Linked DNA regions of Homo sapiens: region 2 is linked to region 1. Evidence: promoter capture Hi-C in human tissues and cell types (Jung and others, 2019). All regions are on one chromosome and are shown on one strand. The core of a region is centred on a gene start or on the middle of the fragment in contact, and the rest is flanking DNA. Distances in the headings are between cores, read along the strand shown. Region 1 holds the start of LCT (lactase). Region 2 overlaps MAP3K19 (mitogen-activated protein kinase kinase kinase 19).

Evidence for each region. The method cuts DNA at HindIII sites, captures the fragments that hold promoters and counts their contacts. A contact is called where the count stands out against the background at its distance.
Region 2: a contact is called between a fragment that was not itself captured here and the fragment with the promoter of LCT in region 1, in 2 of the 25 tissues and cell types used here (lymphoblastoid cells and mesendoderm cells).

The regions. Positions count from the first base shown.
Region 1 is chr2:135,835,898-135,842,507 of GRCh38, reverse strand. It overlaps LCT (lactase), which reads left to right and starts at 5,324. Exons shown (of 17, transcript NM_002299.4): 1 at 5,324-5,978. The coding sequence starts at 5,339. It overlaps MCM6 (minichromosome maintenance complex component 6), which reads left to right. Exons shown (of 17, transcript NM_005915.6): 17 at 1,557-2,882. The coding sequence ends at 1,673. The HindIII fragment of the contact is 17,432 bases long and covers 1-6,610 here.
Region 2 is chr2:135,009,451-135,016,023 of GRCh38, reverse strand. The region is part of intron 5 of MAP3K19 (mitogen-activated protein kinase kinase kinase 19); the gene reads left to right. Among named protein-coding and RNA genes, the nearest start is that of MAP3K19, 35 kb to the left of the region's middle. The HindIII fragment of the contact is 8,965 bases long and covers 1-6,573 here.

The DNA of each region.
Region 1 (6,610 bases), core at 4,075-6,574:
GGAGCTACAGTGGTACCTGGCACATAGCAGGATCAAATATATGTTGAATGGTTAAATTTTCCTATTATGTGGCAGAGATTTAACTGTCGTGCCAATTCACAGGGCTCACTATATAAATATTACAGAGGTCATGTATTGGGGTTGTGTCTTCTCAAAAACCGTTTTCCTGTGAAGGTAGATCAGTCTGTGATTATTGAGGGGTAGGGAGGTGTAAGAACAGCTACTCAGATCAGGGTCCAGAGTTGCTTTTCTAGTGGTGGGACATGTCTGTGTGCTCCTTGGGATCAGTGTAAAGTAAAACGACCCAGGCAAGGAATCTGCTTCAGGACTTTGGAACACACTGTGAAGCTAACTGATCTAAACTTGAATTACCTATTTATTTATTTATTTATTTATTTATCTTTTGAGAGAGTCTTGCTCTGTTGCCCAGACTGGAGTGCAGTAGCATGATCTCAGCTCGCCGCAACTTCCGCCTTCTGGGTTTAAATGATTCTCTTATCTCAGCCTCCAGAGTAGCTGGGATTACAGGTGCCCGCCACCACTCCCAGCTAATTTTTGTATTTTTAGTAGAGATGGTGTTTCACCATGTTGGCCAGGCTGGTCTCAAACTCCTGACCTCAGGTGATCCACCCACCTCAGCCTCCCAAAGTGCTGGGATTACAGGCATGAGCTACTGCGCTCAGCCTGGATTACCTTTTAAAATTTGGCTTACCACCTGAACTAATTTGCTACAGAAAACTAGAGAGCTTATACTGTGCTGATGAGATATGATGCTTCCTATGAAGGTATGTTAACACATAGAGTGAGTGCTTGAAAGTGTCCAATCTAACTTCAGGGGTAGATTTGAAAGGGCAATTTTTTAAAAAGTGTCCAGTCCCCCTTAGTGGCTTCAGTGTTTATACTGTGGAGCCTTGCCAGACTTCTTAGGATCAAATCACAGTTTCCTGAGTTCCTTTCTATGGGCTTGGCTAGGAGCTCTTCTCATTTGTGGACAGTTTTGACTAACCTGTAATTATATCGTGGGCTTAAAATCTGTCATCAAGATTTTAAGCCAGATGGCATGTTCTACCTTTTTTTTTATTAGCTCAGAGTGAAAAATTTTTCAGATGAATTTTCATAGATTCTTCTCCTAACTCTATGAAATGGTGGTATATGAAAAAGTTCAGTGGTCATAATTAAAAATTGCTGAATGATATTAAGTATGAAACAGACTTCCAATTAATTAGAAGATTTTGCAGAGTTGTTTAACCTTAAAATTCAAGCATTACTTCCTTTTTTGAAGTTGTATTTACAAGCATTTGATGTAATATATTTAAGTATTTCTTAATTTTCCACAAGGGGTTTATGGTATGAAAAGGTCAGCATCCTACTAGGAACAGGGTTTAGCAGAGCACTGATAGTGATTTTTAAAGTGTGGTCCTTTTCCTAGGAGTTTCTAGTTGGGAAATGAAAGAAAATGTTGATAGCAAACACTCGGAAGAAGGGTCAAGTCTTGTATATCTGGACATTGGTATAATACTGCTTGAAACCTGAGGACAAATATTTGTGTTTCACAGGATCATGTTCTAATTGAGCTCACCCAGGCTGGATTGAAAGGCTCCACAGAGGGAAGTGAGAGCTATGAAGAAGATCCCTACTTGGTAGTTAACCCTAACTACTTGCTCGAAGATTGAGATAGTGAAAGTAACTGACCAGAGCTGAGGAACTGTGGCACAGCACCTCGTGGCCTGGAGCCTGGCTGGAGCTCTGCTAGGGACAGAAGTGTTTCTGGAAGTGATGCTTCCAGGATTTGTTTTCAGAAACAAGAATTGAGTTGATGGTCCTATGTGTCACATTCATCACAGGTTTCATACCAACACAGGCTTCAGCACTTCCTTTGGTGTGTTTCCTGTCCCAGTGAAGTTGGAACCAAATAATGTGTAGTCTCTATAACCAATACCTTTGTTTTCATGTGTAAGAAAAGGCCCATTACTTTTAAGGTATGTGCTGTCCTATTGAGCAAATAACTTTTTTTCAATTGCCAGCTACTGCTTTTATTCATCAAAATAAAATAACTTGTTCTGAAGTTGTCTATTGGATTTCTTTCTACTGTACCCTGATTATTACTTCCATCTACTTCTGAATGTGAGACTTTCCCTTTTTGCTTAACCTGGAGTGAAGAGGTAGAACTGTGGTATTATGGATGAGGTTTCTATGAGAAGGAGTCATTAGAGAACTCATATGAAAGCTAGAGGCCTTAGAGATGACTTTCCAAGGTTAATTCCAGTTGTTTTTTTTTTTTTTTAAGTTTATAAAAGTTTATTATACTTTTTTAAAATTACTCTTTAGTAATTTATTTTACTTCTGTGTCCTAAGGGTAATTTCTCAGGATTGTTTTCAAATTGCTTTTTTAGGGGAAATAGGTCATTTGCTATATTACAAGCAATCCCCAAATTTTATGGTCTTCCAGGAAAAGTTATTACCGTTTATGATACTAACAGTTCCTGAGACTTAGCTATGATCAGTATGTTCATGAGGTGGAGCAGTTCCTGTGTTGCAGCTTTTAACAACAGATGGCATTCATTAAATCACAAAGTATGTTAAAGGTCACAAAAGCAAAATAACTGTCTGAGGCTAAGGCCCACGTGGGACAGTCTAATACCCATGAGTACTCAACTTGCCTTGATGTCTGAGCTTTCCAGTGCAATGTGAATTTGAGCAGCCAGAAATCTATTAGTAGAAAGCAAGACAGATTAATATAGGTTAAAACAATGATTTAAATATGTTTCTCCCAATAATTATCTCTTTCCCTGGAATCAACTTGTATGAAACCTTGTCAAAATGTACTCCACAAGTATGTACAATTAAGTATTTTAAAAATAAATGGCAAACATTAAAAACAAGAGTGAATACTCAAGTAGATTTGTCATGGGATTTTTATAAGAAGACTGGTATCAGGTAATGTATCTTTAAAGACTAGGCTGCTCTGCTGACGTAGTAACCATTTTTTATTCCTTTACTTTCCTAATAGCCTTGCTTTCACTTAAGAAAAAAAAAGGCTAGGCACGGTGGCTCACGCCTGTAATCCCAGCACTTTGGGAGGCCAAGGTGAGTAGATCACCTGAGGTCAGGAGTTCGAGACAAGCCTGGCCAACGTGGAGAAAACCTGTCTCTACTAAAAGTACAAAAATTAGCCAGGCATGGTGGTGGGCACCTGTAATCCCAGCTACTCAGGAGGTTGAGGCAGGAGAATTGCTTGAACCCAAGAGGTGGAAGTTGCAGTGAGCTGAGATCATGCCACTGCCCTCCAGCTTGGGCGGCAACAACAACAACAAAAAAAGATTCCCAGGCTTCACCCTCTACAGTCTATGGAAAGTCATGGGAGTCTATTAAAAAAAAACAGACACTATAAACCAAATTAAAAGATGGGAAAATTTTTCTATCACGTTTTAATATGTGATATCCAAACTCCCATTAAGAATTTTTATATCAGTAATAAGATAAAACTCAGAAGAAAAATGCCCAATTAACAAGAAGAGCTTCACCTCTTAAATAATCAGAAAAAGAAAAGCACATAATATTTACGTCAAAGTATCAAAAATGTAAAAGTTTTATAATAGGCATTAGCAAGGCAGACGGATACAGGCACACATCTAACTCTATGTAGGATTTAACTTGGAAGACAATTTGCATTTCAATCAATCAAAAACCATTTTTTTTTTTGAGATGATCTCCCTGTGTTGCCCAGACTGGCCTCAAGCTCCTGGGCTTGAGCAGTCCTACAGTCTGAGCCTCCAAAAGTACTGGCAAAACAGGCGTGATTGACCATGCCCAGCCTGTATATAAGGATATTCATTTGCAGCATTGTTTGCAACACAAAAATGTAAAACCAACCGGTGTTTAATATGCAAGATGTTAATTTATGGTACATTCTTGCTGTGGAAAGCTATGCATCTGTTAGAGGTGGGTCTATATGTTCTGATACAGGCAGAACTCTAAGAGCTATTAAGTGAAGAAAAGGCTGAAAATACATATGGCATAATTCCATATATGTTAAATTGTTCTATATTTTAAATGTTATACACGTTTCCATTTGTATTTACGTAATAATAATGATCCCTGAGCTGTACTGTTGTATACATGCTACAAGAAAGACCCATTTAATCCCCACAGCCTATGATGAATTATCCACATTCTACAGGTGACAAAATAGAGGCACAAAGTTAAGTAATTTTTGTCAGGTGAGATTTAAACCCAGGCATTCTGACTCCTGTATAACCATTAAGATATGCAGAGAAAGAAAACTGGAAAGATACATATTGCTGAAGATACTTATTATAGGAAGAGGAGGGGGGAGGGTGAAGGAATTTGCAAGTTTTTCATAGATGTTTCCATATTGTTTGAATCTCTTACAAAATATGTTCAGCATATTTTTAAAGAGAAAATTTGGGGCAAAATACTTATTTTTGTATTATGTAAACAAATTTTAAAATAATGTGTGGCTGGGTGCGCTGGCTCACACCTGTAATCCCAACACTTTAGGAGGCTGAGGCAAGAGGATTGCTTGAGCCCAGGAGTTCAAGACCAGCCTGGGTGACATGGCAAAACTCCATCTCTACTAAAAATACAAAAAATTAGCCAGTCGTGGTGGCGCACACCTATGGTCCCACCTACCCAGGATGCTGAGATGGGAGGATCACTTGAGCCCAGGAAGTCAAGGCTGCAGGAAGCTGTGATCGCACCACTGCACTCCCACCTGGGCAACAGAGTGAGACCCGGTCACCAAAAAACAAAAAAAACAAAAAAAATTGGTAATCGTTTTCTTCAGACATTTTCCGGGTTCCTCTGCTTAACTTGTATAGGAAGTCTGAGGTTTTTGTGTTGGTCTTTACCTTTTTTTTTTTTTTTTTTTTTTAAGATGGAGTCTCATTCTGTTGCCCAGGCTGGAGTGCAGTGGCATGATCTTGGCTCCTGCAACCTCCGCCTCCTGGGTTCAAGTGATTCTCCTGCCTCAGCCTCCTGAGTAGCCGGGACTACAGGCGCATGCCACGATGCCTGGCTAATTTTTTGTATTTTTAGTAGAGATGGGGTTTCACCATGTTAGCTAGGACGGTCTCGATCTCCTGACCTCGTGATCCGCCCACCTCGGCCTCCCAAAGTGCTGGAATTACAGGTGTGAGCCACCACGCCCGGCCCTGATCTTTACATTTTTAAATATTGCATTAGTGAACCGTGTACTGATTTTGTGATCATAGATAACCCAGTTAAATATTAAGTCTTAATTATCACTTAGTATTTTACAACCTCAGTTGCAGTTATAAAGTAAGGGTTCCACATACCTCCTAACAGTTCCTAGAAAATGGAGCTGTCTTGGCATGTAGTCTTTATTGCCCTGCTAAGTTTTTCATGCTGGGGGTCAGACTGGGAGTCTGATAGAAATTTCATTTCCACCGCTGGTCCTCTAACCAATGACTTGCTGCACAACCTGAGTGGTCTCCTGGGAGACCAGAGTTCTAACTTTGTAGCAGGGGACAAAGACATGTATGTTTGTCACCAGCCACTGCCCACTTTCCTGCCAGAATACTTCAGCAGTCTCCATGCCAGTCAGATCACCCATTATAAGGTATTTCTGTCATGGGCACAGCTCCTCCCAGCAGGAAGCACCCAGAATCCAGACGAGAAAACAGTGCAGTGCTACCGGCGACTCCTCAAGGCCCTCAAGACTGCACGGCTTCAGCCCATGGTCATCCTGCACCACCAGACCCTCCCTGCCAGCACCCTCCGGAGAACCGAAGCCTTTGCTGACCTCTTCGCCGACTATGCCACATTCGCCTTCCACTCCTTCGGGGACCTAGTTGGGATCTGGTTCACCTTCAGTGACTTGGAGGAAGTGATCAAGGAGCTTCCCCACCAGGAATCAAGAGCGTCACAACTCCAGACCCTCAGTGATGCCCACAGAAAAGCCTATGAGATTTACCACGAAAGCTATGCTTTTCAGGGTGAGTACACATTGACCTGATGGTGACCCCTCGGCAACCTTCATCACACACCTTCCCCATCCTCCTTAGAGCAGATTCGACATTTCTCCCAACTCACCTTCAGCAGTCCTCTTATGTCTGTGCATAGGGAGAAATTAATATTGTAAATTGATTTCCCACTGGCGATAGGAAGGGGTAGCTAACATGGCAAAACACTCAGCATTTCCTTTGAAAAATATCTTTGAGGCTCACGCCTGTAATCCTAGCACTTTGGGAGGCCGAGGTGGGCGGATCACTTGAAGTCAGGAGTTCGAGACCAGCCTGGCCAATATGGCAAAACCCCGTCTCTACTAAAAATACCAAAATTAGCCAGGGATGGTAGCAGGCGCCTGTGATCCCAGCTACTCGGGAGGCTTAGGCAGGAGAATTGCTTGAACCCAGGAGGCAGATGTTGCAGTGAGCCGAAATCATGCCACTGTACTACAGCCTGTGCGACAGAGCAAGACACAATCTCAAAAAAAAAAAATATGTATACATATATATATATATATATATATATATATATATATATATACACACATGTATTTTTGAAATACCCCTTGCCCAGTCTTGAGTTGTGCAAGCACTGATTGTCTTTCTGTCTTCCTTTCCGT
Region 2 (6,573 bases), core at 2,730-5,229, 830 kb after region 1:
CTGCCTCATCCTCCCAAAGTGCTGGAATTATAGATGTGAGCCATTTTGCCTGACCACACTAACCCTTTTGAAAGAAAATGTAAGAAAATCTTTGTGACCTTGGAGCTGGCAACAAATATTTTTTTTTTTTTTGAGATGGAGGCTCGCTCTGTTGCCAGGCTAGAGTGCTGTGGTGCAATCTCGGCTCACTGCAACCTCCAACTCCCTGGTTCAAGGGATTCTCCTGCCTCCGCCTCCCGAGTTGCTGGGATTATAAGCATGCACCACCATGCCCGGCTAATTTTTGTATTTTTAGTAGAGATGGGGTTTCACTATGTTGGCCAGGATGGTCTTGATCTCCTGACCTCGTGATCCACCCACCTCGGCCTCCTAAAGTGCTGGAATTACAGGCATGAGCCACTGTGCCCGGCCAACAATTTTTACAACAGAACACACATCACAAAAAATGCTTGCCATAAAAGAAAAGTTAATTAAATGGGCTATATTAAATGAAGCATTTCTTTTTATCTAAAGACATCATTAAGATAATAATAAGCAACTCATAAGGTGAGAAAAGATACTTAAAATGTATGTATCTGACAAAGGACCTGCATTCAGAAAAAATTTAAAAACTCCCACAAATTAGGAACAGATAGGCTAATAGAAAGTGGGCAAAAACTTGATCAGACACTTAGCAAAAAAAAGATGTCTAAATGGCCAACAAAATATATTAAAAGATGCTCAGCTTTTAGTCATTAGATAAATGTAATTTTAAACAACAATGTGATAACACTGCACATCCACAGAATGATTACAATTTTACAAGTTGGGAAATATCAAGTGTTGACAAGGATGTAGGGCAACAAGAACTTTCATGCACTGCTGATGGGAGAATGAACTGTTAGAATAATTTAGAAAGCTGTCTTTTGGTGTCTGTTAAAGAGAAATATATGCATACTCCATAATCCAGCAATTCTGCTCCTAAATACATACCTAACAGAAATGCATCATATGTTTACCATAAGCTACATATTATAATGATCATAGCAGCACTATTATAATAGCCCCCAAATGGAAAATACCCAAGTGCCTATCAAGAATAGAAAGGATACATAAATTGTGGTATATTCACATAGTGTAAAACTACACATAAATGAGAATGAGAGTGAATGATCTAAAATTACATGCAAAAATACAGATGAATCTCACAAATACACTGTTGAGCAAAAGAAACCAGACATAAAAAATTAAATCCTGTATGGGTCTATTTATATAAAAACAAAAGGAGGAATAACAAAGCTAATCTATGGTGTTAGAATTCAGAATAGCACTTGCATGAGAGTGTTCTTTGGGGATATTGGTAGTGTTCTTTTATTTGATCTGGGTCCTGGATACACAAATGTATTGGGTTTATTAAAATTAATCTATACACATATGGTAAGTGAACTTTTCTGAATGTATGCTATACTAAAATCAAAAGTAATGGAAAAGGGGTGGAGTAGGGAATGTCTTCAAATATCTGACACACACAAAAAAGAATATGGTTTTCAGCCAGGCATGGCTGTGGATACCTGTACCTGTGGTCCCAGCTACTCAGGAGGCTGAGATGGGAGGATAACTTGAGCCCAGGAGTTTGAGACGAGCCTGGACAACATGCCTTTTTTTTTTCTTTTCTTCTTTTTTGGAGACAGGGTCTCACTCTGTCACCTAGGCTGGGGTGCAGTGGCCAGTGGCATGATCACAGCTTACTGCAACCTCCGCCTTCCAGGCTTCAGCAAACCTCCCACCTCAGCCTCCTAAGTAGCTGGGATTACAGGCATGCTCCACCAGGCTCCGCTAATTTTTGCATTTTTTTGTAGAGATGGGGTTTCACCATGTCACCCAGGCTGATCTCGAACTCCTGGCCTGAAGTGATCTGCCCACCTCAGATTCCCAAAGTGCTGGGATTACAGATGTGAACCACTGGCCCGAATGAATGTGGTTTTCAAACTAGGATTCTATGCCCAAACAAACTCTCAGTTAAGCATTAGAGTTGAATAAAGACATTTTTCAGACACAGAAATCTCAAACATATTACTTCTGATATACCTTTTAAGGAAGCTACTAAGTGCTCTATTAAATTGAAAAAGTAAATAAAGAAAGAGGAAAAAATAGGATCTGTGACTCAGAGGATCAAGAGAGAGGAGGGAATCATTGGTATAATGAAGAAGGCAGGTCCCAGGACTTCAGCTAATTAGCAACTCTAGAAAACAAAGAGCTCAGATGATTGGGGGATTGGGGTGGGGGCAGGGAGCAGGACAGAGGAGGGAAACAGAACAGATATTGTTGTCTGATAAATTTCACCAAGTGGCAAGACCATTGTAGGTTGGGAAGATTTAGGCTTTAAATAAAAGGACATAAGAAAGTAAATAAAATAAACCAACTAGAAATTAAAAAACCAAGGGATGAGGGGAAGGAAGGATGAATAGGCAGAGCAAAGAAGATTTTTAGGGCACTGAAACTACTCTGTATGATTCTATAATGGTGGATACAGGTCATTATACATTTGTTCAAACCCATAGAATGTACAACACCAGGAGTGAACCTTAATGTTAACTACAGACAACTGTAACAAATGTACCACTCTGGAGGGCGATGTTAATAATGGGTGAGGCTGTGCATGTATGGGAGCAGGGGGTATATGGGAAATCCCTATACCTTGTTCTTCTTCTTCTTCTTCTTTTTTTTTTTTTTGGGACGGACTCTTACTCTGTCGCCCAGGCTGGAGCGCGATCTTGGCTCACTGCAACCTTCACCTCCTGGGTTCAAGTGATTCTTCTGCCTCAGCTTCCTGAGTAACTGGGGTTACAGGCATGCACCACCATGTCTGGCTAATTTTTGTATTTTTAGTAGAGACAGGGTTTCACCATGTTGACCAGGCTGGTCTCAAACCCTTGACCTTAGGAGATCCATCCACCTTGGCCTCCCAAAGTGTTAGGATTACAGGCGAGAGCCACTGTGCCCGGCCTATACCTTCCTCTTAATTTCTCTGTGAACTTAAAATGTCCCTAAAAATAAAGTCTATTCAAACAAACATACAAACAAACAAACAAACAAACAAGGGTTTGGGGGTTTGTTCTGGAAAATAAAACAGTTATACAAGAAAGAAAGCATAATCATACTATATTACAATTGTACTACTACATAGTACAATATCCTCATAATCAAAATTAGCCATTGACTATTGATTTAACAGCAAAGAAGGTAAATGTATTGGGAGGATGGAGGCAGGGCATAAGAACATTAAATTATTAACTGCCATAATAAGTCAATAGATGATGCCTCACTTTGATGAATCAAGAGACAGCATGATAACTATGCAGAAATACGGAAGAAAATACCAAAAGAAACAGCTAAAAGTTTGGAAGTGGTTGCCTCTGAGGAAAACGGTGACTGTTTTTCTCGGTATAAGTCTTTTACCATTATTTGATTTTTTTTACATGTGCAGTTTAATTTTGATAAAAATTAAGTGAAAATTAAAAATAAACGGTTAAATCAAGACTTCTCTGGGACATGGGATGGGATGAGCTACCATGGAAACATTCCTTTTTAAATCCTATTTGAATATTTTAGCTTTGCGCATTTATAAATTTTCTAAGTAGTTTAGTCTGCTTCCTACCAAAGTGGAATTTAGTACCCTGGTTCCCAACAAGGGAGTGATTCCCAGCGCCCACCTCCCACCCCTCCCACCCTAGGGGGTCATTTGACAATGTTTGCAGACATTTCTGGTATCATCACTAGGGGAGAATGCAACTGGCATCTTGTGGGTACAAGCCAGGGACGCTCCTAAACATCCTATCAGACACACGACAGCCCCCACAGCCAAGAATTATCTGGTCTTGAATGTCAACAGTGCAGAGACTGAGAAATTTGCTACATGTTGTCACAATATTGAAGGTTGCACTGTGTTTGGTTACTAATATTATATAGTAATCAAAATAAAATACCTAGAGACAAATCTTTAAGGTGAGTGTCATGCATAAGATATTGATAAACAAAAACATACTTTTTATTTTTATGGTCTATTTAAGCAATTTTCTTTTTAAAAGGACTAACTATATCACTTCATATTAATACATTGAAATAAATGTTTAAAAACATTTTTGTAGAGATGGGGTCTCACTATGTTGCCCAGGCTGGTCTCAAACTCCTGGCCTCAGCCAGGTGTGGTGGCATGCACCTGTAGAACCAACTACTTGGGAGGCTGAGGCAACAGGATCATTCAAGCCCAGGAGTTCAAAGTTACAGTGAGCTATGATCACACCACTGCACTCCAGCCAGGATGACAGAGGGAGAGTCTGTTTCTAAAAAACAAACAAACAAACAAACAAACAAACAACATCAAACTCTTAGTCTCAAGAGATTCTCCCACTTCTGTCTCCTAAAGTGCAGGAATTACAGGTGTGAGCCACCGTGCCTGATCAGTACATTTTTTGAGGCAACTTTAAGACTTTTTTTTTTTTTTTTTTGAGACAGAGTCTCGCTCTGTCGCCCAGGCTGGAGTACAGTGGCGCGATCTCGGCTCACTGCAAGCTCCGCCTCCCGGGTTCACGCCATTCTCCTGCCTCAGCTTCCCGAGTAGCTGGGACTGCAGGGGCCCGCCACTACGCCTGGCTAATTTTTTGTATTTTTAGTAGAGACGGGGTTTCTCCGTGTTAGCCAGGATGGTCTCGATCTCCTGACCTCGTGATCCACCCGCCTTGGCCTCCAAAAGTGCTGGGATAACAGGCGTGAGCCACCGCGCCTGGCAAAACTTTTTTTAAAAACCTTTCATTAGGTGTTTTTTCTTATTGTAGCCGAAATAAAGTTTAAACTCCTTTTTGAGGGAGAAATGGACTTTTTCAGTATTATATTTGCCTTTCCTTCCCTAGTGGTTTAACTGGGGTTTAAATCCCTTTCACTCTTTTCTTTAAATGAAAGCTTTGTTTTCTTTTTGGTTGTCTGAAATAGGTTTTTATAGTTTACAAATATAAGCAGCTGCCTTGCATGTAGGACAGCTCCAGAGAGGCTCGTTATAGACTCGCCCAGTCATCTTTTTTCACCTGAGGAGAATCTTCTTTCAAAATTTTATCATAGGCTGGATATGGTGGCTCATGTCTGTGATCTCGGCACTTGGGGAGGCTGAAGTGGGAAGATCCCTTGAGTCCAGGCATTCGAGACACCCCTGGGCAACATAATAAGACTTTGTCTCTACAAAAAAATTAAAAAATTAGCTGGTTATGGGGGCGTGCCTCTGTAGTTCCAGTTACTTCCTGGAGGCTGAGGTGGGAGAACCACTTGAACACAGGAGTTTGAGGCTGCAGTGAACTATAATTGTGCTGCTGCATTCCAGCCTCGGCGACAGAGTGAGCTCCCATGTCTCTAAAATATAAAAATAAAAAAACTTTAATCACGTCTGATTTCCATCGTGCCTTTACATTCTGTATGTTTGGTATGCTGTTGTCTGCAGGCTAGAATGCGATGCTCTATTTCTTATCCATCTATCAGCTCCCGTGGTGTTGTCAATGGTTTATGAAATCCATCTATGTTTGGGACTTGCTATTCTGATGTTTTCTCTCTTTTACTCACTCCTAGATGACACTATTTCAATTCTCCTCCTTGTGGCACCCAAGCACATCTTAAAGTCATTGCTGGTTAGATTTATAAAATAAGTTAGAAAATTCTGAGCTGTTTCTGTTTGAGTCTTCACTTCCGTCATCACCTTCAAAGTAGATCTTACTCCCTACATCCTTTTTGATTGTGATACTTATGGTTTTTCAGTTTGTTCCAGGGTTTAAATTTTTGTCAGGTACTTATAGGGATCACACATCTTTTATTATTATTTTTTCTATGCAAAACTTATCAATTAGGTTTGAGTATCCTTTCCCTTTATTTTGCTCATTAATTCTTTTTTTTTTTCTGGTTCTTGTTGAAATTCATTGTTTCAAACTTTTCATGCTAACAAGATCACTGAGTGGTCACAACCTCTGGACCCAGATTTCACAGTCTGGGTGTAAATTCTGGCTCTGCCACTGGCTAGCTGTGTGACCTCGTGTAAGCTACTTAACTTTTCTGGGCCTCAGGTACAAAATGAAGATAATAGATCCTAACTTTAGAGTTGTGAGGATTAAATTAGTTAACCCATTTATGCTTAGTGTTCCATTATTGGAACGGTGAGCTTGTGGGGGTTATTTATATCCCACTGCTCAAGGTCATTGCCAAGGTCTGATTTTTCACACAAAAAAATTTGCAACCTCCGAGATAAATGGGTTAATATGTGTAACGCATATAGAACAGTGTCTGGTACTATATATGTAAATGCTAGTCATCATTATGGATTTTGTAGGTGGGTATGACCACACTGCCGGCTTCCAACTTTTCCTACAGGACCAACTGACAAATGAACTGAGTAGCTGAGATTGACCACAGCCCAGTAATCAACATGGAAACTTGATGTGAGAACCTGCTGTATGACTAACACTTCCAAATGAAGGCTGCTGTTTTCTCAAAGCTCAGCATAAAAATTTCACTGAATCACTGTAATTAAATGAAATGGTAGAAATGTGTTTTGAGGTC